Linked DNA regions of Homo sapiens: region 1 is linked to region 2. The links are contacts of gene promoters, found by promoter capture Hi-C in blood cells and fetal thymus (Javierre and others, 2016). All regions are on one chromosome and are shown on one strand. The core of a region is centred on a gene start or on the middle of the fragment in contact, and the rest is flanking DNA. Distances in the headings are between cores, read along the strand shown. Region 1 has its middle 55 kb from the start of INO80. Region 2 holds the start of CCDC32 (coiled-coil domain containing 32).

Region 1 (5,614 bases), core at 2,869-5,368, 610 kb before region 2:
GCTGCAGTGTAGTGGTGCGATCTCGGCTCACTGCAAGCTCTGCCTCCCGGGTTCACGCCATTCTCCTGCCTCAGCCTCCCAAGTAGCTGGGACTACAGGCGCCCGCCACCACACCCGGCTAACTTTTTGTATTTTTAGTAGAGACGGGGTTTCACCGTGTTAGCCAGGATGGTCTCGATCTCCTGACCTCGTGATCTGCCCGCCTCGGCCTCCCATAGTGCTGGGATTACAGGCGTGAGCCACCGCGCCCAGCCTTCCTTTACTTTTTTAATAAACTTGCTTTCACTTTACTGTATGGAGTCGCCCCAAATTCTTTTTTGCACGAAGTCCAAGAACCCTTTCTTGGTGTCTGTATTGGGACCCCCCCTTTCCGGTAACAAGGGGACATGGGAACCTTCTCAGGTGATATGAATGTTCTATATCTTGATTATGCTGGTAGTTACACTGATGTATACATTTGTTGAAACTCATTGAACAATATACTTTAATTGGTGCTTTTTATTGTATGTAAATTATGCCTCAGAAAATTAATTTTAAAACATTTGGAAGCTGCTGGTCTAGTGGGTGTCAGGAAAATAATCATTAGGGCTACAATATTTTCGTTAAATGATGTCAATGAACAGAAGGAGCAAATATGTGTTGCTCTTATAGTTGGATAAAATTCAAACATAATTTTAAAGGAGGCAGTAATACATTCACATGATTATAAAAGAAACAGAGGCTGAGTGCGGTGGCTCATGCCTGTAATCCCAGCACTTTGGGAAGCCGAGGCGGACGGATCACCTGAGGTCAGGAGATCAAGACCAGCCTGACCGACATGGTGAAACCCCATCTCTACTAAAAATACAAAAAATTAGCCGGGCGTGGTGGCGGGCGCCTGTAGTCCCAGCTAATCAGGAGGCTGAGGCAGGACAATCGCTTGAACCCGGGAGGCGGAGCTTGCAGTGAGCCGAGATCGTGCCACTGCACTCCAGCCTGGGCGACAGAGCGAGACTCCGTCTCAAAAAAAAAAAAAAAAAAAAAAGAAAGAAAGAAAGAAAAAGAAACGATACAGAAGGGCTTATTAATGAAAGTAGATGTTCCCTTGGCTCCTCCTTTCCTAACCACAGTCCTGTTCCCTAGAACCATCCGCTTTTAATACATACAATTTTGTTTTGCTCTTTTTCTGAATGAAATAATGTCCTTTGGAGCAACATGCATGGAGCTGGAGGCCATTGTCTGAAGTGAAATAACTCAGATACAGAAAATCAAATACCGTATGTTCTCACTCAAAATAGGAGCTAAACAGCAGGTACACATGGACATAAGGATGGAAATAATAGACATTGAGACCTCCAAAAGGGGAAAGTGGGGGAAGAAGGGTTAAAAAAATTACCTGTTGGGTACAATAGAAGCCCAAACCTCACCATTATGTAATATAACAGGTAACAAACCTATACATGTACCCCCCTGAATCCAAAATTTAAAAATTAAAAAATTGGCTGGGTGCAGTGGCTCACGCCTGTAATCCTAGCACTTTGGGAGGCCGAGGCGGGCAGATTACGAGGTCAGGAGATCGAGACCATCCTGGCTAACACGGTGAAACCCCATCTCTACTAAAAATACAAAAAATTATCCAGGCATGGTGGCGGGCGCCTGTAGTCCCAGCTACTCAGGAGGCTGAGACAGAAGAATGGCGTGAACCCGGGAGGTGGAGCTTGCAGTGGGCCGAGATCGCGCCACTGTACTCCAGCCTGGGCGACAGAGCGAGACTCCGTCTCAAAAATAAATAAATAAATTAATTAATTAAATTAAAAAATAAAAATTAAAAAATTAATTTTTTTTTCTTTCGCCCAGGCCGGAGTGCAGTGGCCCAATCTGGTCTTACTACAACCTCTGCCTCCCAGGTTCAAGCGATTCTCCTGCCTCAATCTCCCAAGTAACTGGGATTACAGGCATCCACCACCACGCCTGGCTAATTTTTGTATTTTTATTAAGAGACGGTGTTTCACTGTGTTGGCCAGGCTTGAACTTCTGACCTCAGGTGATCTGCCCGCCTTGACCTCCCATAGTGCTGGGATTACAGGCGTGAGACACTGCACCTGGACAAAAAAGAAATTTTTGTTCCTCTTTTTCCCAAATGAACCAGAGTGTAAACTAGTAGATTTGGAAGAGTTGATCGAAGGCATTTAATTGCAATGCAAGCCAGAGAAACCAGAGGGCCAGTAACTTCAGCCTCTTGCTGTTGATCTCTCCATATTGCAATAGTAGCCTGTCTAATTAGGATGAGACACTTCCACATTCTGGAATTCTCCAATTCCCCAAGTACATTATTGTTTATAACTTGAAAGGCACCTGATGGCTAAACCCTGAGTATTTTAAATAAGAACTTTGTAATGGAAACAAATTCTAATGAAAACATTCCTTAGGAAGAGCCAAAATGGCAAGTTCCAGGAATGAGGGAATTAAGGGAAAGAAATTTTTTATTGTGTAACTTGTTGGGATGCCATTGAAATAGCAAAATCTTTATGTGGAGAAAAGGAAATTCCTCCTCAGCACTTCCTTCTGAGAAGGCCCACTTAAATGAAAAAATATATAAATGAAAATATTACATGTACGTCTAGTAGGTGTTCATACTTGCCTTTAAAATAGAGAACACTGGGCCGGGCACGGTGGCTCACGCCTATAATCTCAGCACTTTGGGAGGCTGAGGCGGGCGGATCACGAGGTCAGGAGATTGAGACCATCCTGGCTAACATGGTGAAACCCCGTCTCTACTAAAAATACAAAAAATTAGCCAGGCGTGGTGGCGGGCGCCTGTGGTCCCAGCTAATCGGGAGGCTGAGGCGGGAGAATGGCGTGAACCCGGGAGGCGGAGCTTGCAGTGAGCCGAGATCGCGCCACTGCACTCCAGCCTGGGCGACTGAGCAAGACTCCGTCTCAAAAACAACAACAAAAATAGAGAACACTGAGCCGTGGCCGTAAAGCTGCCTTATACAGTGTCCCACATGGTAAGCTTCATTTGTTTTTTTGTTTGTGTGTTTGTTTGTTTTTTGAGATGGAGTCTTGCTCTGTCACCCACGCTGGAGTGCAGTGGTGCGATCTGGGCTCTCTGCAACCTCTGCCTCCCAGGTTCAGGTGATTCTCCTGCCTCAGCCTCCTGAGTAGCTGGGATTACAGGCGCTCACCACCATGCCCAGCTAATTTTTATATTTTTAGTAGAGACGGGGTTTCACCATATTGGCCAGACTGGTCTCAAACTCCTGACCTCAAATGATCCACCCACCTTACCTTCCCAAAGTGCCGGGATTACAGGTGTGAGCTACCGCACCCGCAGGCTTCATTTGTTTTGTGCATTCGTTAGCAAACATTTTGGAGGGCCGTTTTGAAGCCAGGCACTGGACTAGATTGGGGAATCAGAGAAAAAAACACACAATCCCTACTCTCAAAGGACTTCGAGTCTAGTGGGCGATATGTACACAAAATTATAACCGAAATAATAGTTATGTTCAAGGTGTACTGGTGCATTGTACGCATGTTGGGAAAGGCAGAGTAGCCCTGGAAAGGAGATAGCACTTGTCCTGGAACTGAGATCCGTGTCAAAAGCTTTCTTCAGAGGAAAGGGTGCACTTTGAGTAAGAGAACTATGAGGATTTCACCATTGAAAGAGGGGAAAAAATACGGTATGATAGTGAGAGATAAGGCTAGGAAATAGACAAGGTCCATGTATCTGTTACAGTTTTTTGGTCATAAGCAAAACAACTGACTCGGTGTGTTAGTCCCTTCTCACACTGTTCTCACACTGCTATAAAGACATACCTGGGCTGGGTGCGGTGGATCACGCCTGTAATCTCAACACTTTGGGAGGGCAAGGTGGGCGGATCACCTGAGGTAAGGAGTTTGAGACCAGCCTGGCCAACATGGTGAAACCCTGTCTTTACTAAAAATACAAAAATTAGCCAGGCATGGTGGCACGCACCTGTAGTCACAGTTACTCAGGAGGCTGAGGCAGAAGAACTGCTTGAATCCAGGAGGCGGAGGTCGCAGTGAACTGAGATCACACCATGGCACTCCAGCCTGGGTGAAGGAGCAAGACTCCATCTCCAAAAAAAAAAAAAAAAAAAGATATACCTGAGACTAAGTAATTGGTTGCCTGAAGCCAATTAAATCTCTTTTCTCTATAAGTTATCATTATCAAATCATAATGCTTCAAACTAAATGTATTCTCTCTGTAAATGGCACCAACTTCCAAACAGATGCCCAAGTCAGAAACCCAGGAGCCAGCTAAGACTGTACGGGATTGTACAGGCTGTATAGACGTCTGTATCTTGGGAGGCCTCAGGAAACTTACAATCCTGGTGGAAAGCAAAGGGGACGCAAGCATGTCTTACATTGCTGGAGCAGGAGGAAGAGAGCAAAAGGGGAAGTGCTACACACTTTCAAAAAAACAGATCTTGGGAGAACTCTATCACAAGACAGCACTAGGCGGATGGTGCTAAACCATTAGAAACCACCCCATGATCCAGTCACCTCCCACCAGGCCCCACCTCCAACCCCTGAGTGGGGACACAGGGCCAAACTATATCACTTGGGTAATATAAACAAGAAGGGAATTTACTGGAAAGATGAGTGGCTCACAGAACTGACTAGAAGGCTAAAAAACTAAGCTTGGAAATAGGATAGAGGGCTATGGCAGAACTCTAGTTAGCAGGAACAACTCAACTGGCAGAGTGAGTGCCAGTTATGAACAAGGAAGTGAGATGATCGGAAATGTAGATTATATATATATATATATATAATTATTATTTTTTCTGAAACAGACTTTCGCTATTTTCGCCCAGACTGGAGTGCAGTGATGTGATCTCAGCTCACTGCAACCAGAAATGTAGATGATAGATCGTCCTGGTTTAAGCTGTAGGATGGATTGAAAAGGAGCAAGAATAATATGAGGAAGACTTGTATGAAAACTCTTGCATTGATTAAGGTGGAAGATGTGAATGCTTGAATTTGGGAGGGATACAGTGGGATACAGTTGGTAGGATGGAGAGGAATACACAAATACAGGATTTTAGGAAGCATAATGAACCAAATGACCAATTGAATATGGATGGTAAAGTGTGGAAAGGAGTCTTGGCTGGCTCCCAGGTTTCTGACTTGGGCATCTGTTTGGAAGTTGGTGCCATTTACAGAGAGAATATATTGAGAGGATAGTTTGCAGAACTGTGATTTGATAGTTGAATTTTACATGTTTCTCATTTAGAATACATTTGGAATTCCTACATGGATGTGTCTACTAGACAGTCAGATATATGTGAATATAGAGAAGGAGAAAGATCTGAGCTAGAGAGATTGGGAGATGTAAATGGCCCTTGAAGTGATGAGCATATACAGTATTTTCCAGGTTTGAGTATAGAGAGTAAGAGAAAAGGAATGAGAAAGATCACACTCCTAAAATAGGGCAAGGCTGGGCGCTGTGGCTGATGCCTGTAATCCCAGCACTTTGGGAGGCTGAGGTGGGTGGATCACCTGACGTCTGGAGTTTGAGACCAGCCTGACCAACACTAAGAAACCCTGTCTTTATACTAAAAATACAAAATTAGCTGGGTGTGGTGGTGCATGCCTGTAATCCCAGCTA
Region 2 (5,386 bases), core at 2,059-4,558:
TTCCAGGGTGCCTGGAGATGGAAGAATTTAACCCTCTTTTTTTTTTTTTTTTTTTTTTTTTTTGAGACGGAGTCTTGCTCTGTCGCCCAGGCTGGAGTGCAGTGGAGCGATTTCACCTCACTGCAACCTCCGCCTCCTGAGTTCAAGCCATTCTTCTGCCTCAGCCTCCTGAGTGGCTGGGACTACAGGCACGCACCACCACGCCTGGCTAATTTTTATATTATGAGTGCTGGGATTACAGGCGTAAGCCACCGCGCCCGGCCAAGAATCTAACCCTCTTTGGTATCCAGAGTGGGATTCTTCCAAATAAGGAGGCATTTCAATGTTAGTTTGCCAAAAAAAAAAAAAAAAAAAAGACAGTCTAATTCTTATCCTAGGCATTTGTATTCTGGAGAGGAGAAAGGGAAATCTTTTTTAGCTAAATTCCTTCTTCAAGTCATTAGTCTCACCAAACTAACTGAGGGACTGCAGCTGAGGTATCCACAGCTGCAGAACTCCATATGCTGAAAAGTCTGATTCCTGACTACCTCCAGAAATAAGAGGTAGAATTCTCCATTGATTGTGGGGTATGTTAGAACCAAACTACTTCACAGGAGGGACATCATCTCTCAAGTGCATCATTTCATTAAGATATTTACAGTGAAAGCAGAACCTTATCCAAAAGAAAAGTATGTATTCTTAGCTAGCCTCTTTGCTCCATAGGATTGGGGTGGGAGAATTAAATTAGTTAATTCAAGTAAAATACTTGGACTAGTGCCTGGCAAAACTGTGGAGACAGAAAACATAGCAGAATCTTGTTCCTCCTCCCCTTCTGACCTACTAAATGAGAATCTGCACTTTAACATGATCCTCAGGTGATTTTTCTGCATATTAAAGCTTGAGAAGCACTGGCATAGACCATGTAGAGTAGACATTTGTCATATTCTGTAAACATCCAGCATCTTCCGAACACCCTTCTTTTGGGTGGGGAATTTCTCACATTTCATTACTGCCCCCAAAAGGTAGAAGCCAGAGCCTTCCCACACTCTCTTGCAGCTTGGACATAGGCATTTGACCTGGGCTCTATCTCTTAGACAGAGGCTTTGGTTCAGAGGCACACAGCCGCGGAAGCAGGCTCAGTGTGAAATCCGTGTCTAACAAGGTAGCATTGGAGGCATCTAATCTGGGAGGCCAACAGTCGGGGAGGTTCTTGTGTCAAGTACCCAATCGACGAATAATGCCAGCTATAGATGTTCAGTGGCTGTGGGGTGTTCCCTGAGCAGTCTCTCAGTGAGATTCAGATACTGTCCCTGGCTGTATAGACCTAAAGCCTGACTCTCCACTCACCTTGAGGTTCTGTGAACTATGTAATATTCTCCAATCCTGTGCTATACAATAGGATCACCATTAGCCATGTGCTGTACAATAGCCACATGTGGCTAATTAAATTTAAATTAATTAAAATTTTAACAAGTTTTGAAACAAGATCTCACTCCCATCACCCAGGCTGGAGTGCAGTGGCACGATTTTGGCTCACTGCAGCCTTGACTTCCCAAACTGAAGTGATCCTCCCACCTCAGGCTCCCTAGTAGCTGAGACGACAGACATGTGCCACCATGACTGGCTAATTTTTTGTATTTTTAGTAGAGACGAGGTTTTGCCACATTGCCTAGGGTGGTCTCAAACTGGGCTCAAACAATCCATCCACCTTGGCCTCCCAAAGTGTTAGGATTACAGGCCGGATGTGGTGGCGCAACCTCCGCCTCCTGGGTTCAAGTAGTTCTCCTACCTCAGCCTCCTGAGTAGCTGGGATTACAGGCATGCGCCTCCACGCCCAGTTAATTTTTGTATTTTTAGTAGAAACAGGGTTTCACCATGTTGGCCAGGCTGGTCTCGAACTGCTGATCTCAGGTGATCCACACCCCCTCAGCCTCCCAAAATTCTGGGATTACAGGCATGAGCCACCAAGCCCGGCCAGGAACTGAATTTTAAATTGTATTTTAGCTGGGCGCAGTGGCTCACATCTGTAATCCTAAAACTATGTTGTTTTTGTTGTTGTTGTTTTCTTTTTCTTTCTTTCTTTTTTTTTTTGAGACGGAGTCTTGCTCTGTCACCCAGGCTGGAGTGAGAACTATTTCCTCAGCCAAGTTACTTGGCTACTGATGGTTGGCTGATGTCTTTCATCACGTGTTTCTTGGGAGAGAGTAACTGGTGTTGATCCTGGAAGCTGGGGATGGGGAGGGGTCGATCTCAATGAACAAGCTGGTATCTATCCCCTGAAGGATATCAAAGGTCATCTCCTTTAACAACTACAACAACAAAGCATTCTGACACACACTTCTTATGACCACTCTCTCCTTTATGTACTCTGGCCACACTTCCATCATATACTCTATAATCCTCAACGCCCCCCTCCTTTTTTTTTTTTGAGACAGTCTTGCTCTGTTGCCCAGGTTGGAATGCAGTGGTGCGATCTTGTCTCACTGCAACCTCTGCCTTCCCGGTTCAAGCGATTCTCCTGCCTGAGCCTCCCGAATAGCTAGGATTCCAGGCATGTGCCACCATGCTCAGCTAATTTTTGTACTTTTAGTAGAGACAGAGTTTCACCATGTTTCACCCAGGCTGGTCTCGAACTCCTGACCTCAGGTGATCCACCTGCCTCGGCCTCCTAGAGTACTGGGATTACAGGCGTGAGTCACCGCGCCCGGCTGTCTATCACTGTTTACTGTTATTTGTAAACTTTTATGCCTCCATGGCGGACCCCCTTCCTACACTACTAAGCTGTAAGGATCTCCAGGACTTATATCAAGTCATATGTGTCTTAACTTCACGCTTAACACAATGCTTAGAACACAGCAGGTGCTTGGTATCTATTGACTAAATGAATGAAGGAAAGCTTCATAATTTGATGAATGAGACACGAGTCTCCTGGGAGAGTAAGGAAAGAAGCCGCCGAAGTGCTCTAATTTGGGTAACGAAGGGGTGAAATTTTTAGAAGACAAACACCGACAGAGAAAGTTGTGGAGGAGGTGAACTGGCTCCGGCGACTAGGAAAAGTCAAAAGTCTTGGAAACGACTTCCCTATCCAAGCAGGGACTGGAACCCTGGATCTGCAAGGAATCAACCTGGCCCTCGGGAGGGGAGGGGCAATGCTCAGGGCACGTGACTCCACCGTTTCCCGGCAACCAGAGCCCCGTCCACCGCTCGCCTCTTGCTGCTCCTCACTTCTTCACCACGCTGAGCTCCTCTCGACCAATCGACGCACAGAACATCGTCGGGTGGGAAGGTAGTTGGAGGACTCCTGGGCTCCGTCACTAGGGGACTCCGCCCCTCCCGATTTCCTCCGGGCTACAGGCGACAGAGCTGAGCCAAGCGTTTACTGGGCAGCTGTTACGGTAAGTGAGGAGGGGCTGGGGTGCCCAGCGTTTTGGATCTCCCACTCTGGCCCGGCCCCGGAATACCACATAGAGGCCTTGGGACCTGATTCATCCCGTCCAGACAGCCCTAGAGACCTGAGCGACTGAGGCCTGGGATCTGGACGCCGGAATTTCCTGCGTGGTTCTGGACGCCCTGCCCTGGGGTAAGGGGCCATGCGGGGCTCTGGTGTGAGCAAAGTTTTGGTTTTGGGTGGCTTTAGACGAATTCGGGTTGGGGGTTCACTGTAGCGCTAGACATCAGTTCACCCAGGACCGCCGTGTCATAGCTGTCCCTTTTACTTCCGGCCTTTACGCTGGCTGGGCTCTGTCTCCTGGCATTATTCAGACCTTGCCTCAGGCAGCCTTCCTGATTTCTAAGTCTCCTCTTGAAAGAAGGTGTCAGCCTGTCTCATATGCCTAGATAGTTATAAAAGCCTCCAGGCTCTTTGCGTAGCTTTTCCTACCTGCCCGTGCTTGGGCTGCTTTCGTTATATTTTCCAAACAAGCAGGATGGTATTTGATAAAAACATGGATTCTGGAGCAGCACAGATCTGGTTTTCCTGTCAAGGATTCCCCACATATCAGTAATGTGCCCTAGAGCAAGTTACCCTTCTGAACTTGTTTTTTCATCTGTAAAATGGTGAAAATACCTACCTTTCAGTGATTGTATTAAAATAAGAGCATGAGACATACGGCTGAACTGCATGCGCTGAGCACACAGCCCTTGCATTGTAACAGTACTCTCTGACAGACACTTTTTACCAAGCAGGATCTTCATGTATATGGAACTGTGGAAAGACCTTTAGTCTGTGTTCTGTTGAAAACAGAATTTAGGGGCCGGGCGCGGTGGCTCACGCCTGTAATCCCAGCACTTTGGGAGGCCGAGGCGGGCGGATCACAAGATCAGGAGATCGAGACCACCCTGGCTAAACGGTGAAACCCCGTCTTTACTAAAAAATGCAAAAAATTAGCCGGGCGTGGTGGCGAGTGCCTGTAGTCCCAGCTATTTGGGAGGCTGAGGCAGGAGAATGGCGTGAACCCGGGAGGCGGAGGTTGCAGTGAGCCAAGTTAGCGCCACTGCACTCCAGCCTGGGCGACAGAGCGAGACTCTGTCTCAAAAAAAAAAAAGAAAGAAAGAAAGAAAAAAAAACAGAATTTAATTGACTGGAGATAGAACTGTTGCATTTTGGAGATCTTTGGAGAAAAGTGCAGGCTGGTTGTCCAACCTGGAAATGCCCTACAGATTTGTGTGTGTGTGTGTGTGTGTGTGTGTGTGTTAAAATATATGTAGCATAAAATTGACCATTTTAACTATTTTTGTGTGTATGATTCAGTGGTGTTCACATTGTTGTGCAACCATAACTACCATCCACCTCCAGAACTTTTTCATTTTCCCAAACTGAAACTGTGTACCCATTAAACAGTAATTCCCCATTCTTTCTACCTCCCAGCCCCCAGCTCCCACCATCCTATTTTCTGTATCTATGAATTTGACTACTCAGGTACCTTATATAAGTGGAATCACAGTATCTGCCTTTTGTGTATGGCTTGTAGGAATTCCATTTTTATTTTTATTTTATTTATTTATTTGTGAGACAGGGCCTCGCAATGTCACCCAGGCTGGAGTGCAATGGCGTGATCACCACTCACTGCAGCCTCTATCTCCTGGGCTAAGGTGATCCTCCTACCTCAGCCTCCGGAGTAGCTGGGACTACAGGCATGTGCCACCACACCTGTCTAATTTTTGTATTTTTAGTAGAGATGGGATTTTGCCATGTTTCCCAGGCTGGTCTCGAACTGCTGGCCTCAAATGATCTGACTGCCTCGGCTTCCCAAAGTGTTGGGATTACAGTCGTGAGCCACTGTGCTCAACCTTATGCTGTATTCTTAAAGCCAGTTCTTACTCACTTGAGCTTCTGTTTTATAGCTCAGATTCCAAATGAAAATGTTTGAGAGCGCTGACTCTACAGCCACAAGATCTGGCCAGGATC

What was found. Contacts are between HindIII fragments. The CHiCAGO score rates a contact against its expected background, and 5 or more counts as called.
Region 1: a fragment that was not itself captured here is called in contact with the fragment with the promoter of CCDC32 in region 2 in 1 of 17 cell types (M2 macrophages); the score reaches 6.2 in M2 macrophages.

What each region holds. Positions count from the first base shown.
Region 1 is chr15:41,168,814-41,174,427 of GRCh38, reverse strand. No RefSeq gene overlaps it. Among named protein-coding and RNA genes, the nearest start is that of INO80, 55 kb to the right of the region's middle. The HindIII fragment of the contact is 1,061 bases long and covers 3,588-4,648 here.
Region 2 is chr15:40,562,964-40,568,349 of GRCh38, reverse strand. It overlaps CCDC32 (coiled-coil domain containing 32), which reads left to right and starts at 3,308. Exons shown (of 4, transcript NM_001080792.4): 1 at 3,308-3,374; 2 at 5,323-5,386. The coding sequence starts at 5,335. RefSeq lists a silencer at 954-1,133 and enhancers at 2,086-2,380, 2,860-2,909. The HindIII fragment of the contact is 7,257 bases long and covers 2,878-5,386 here.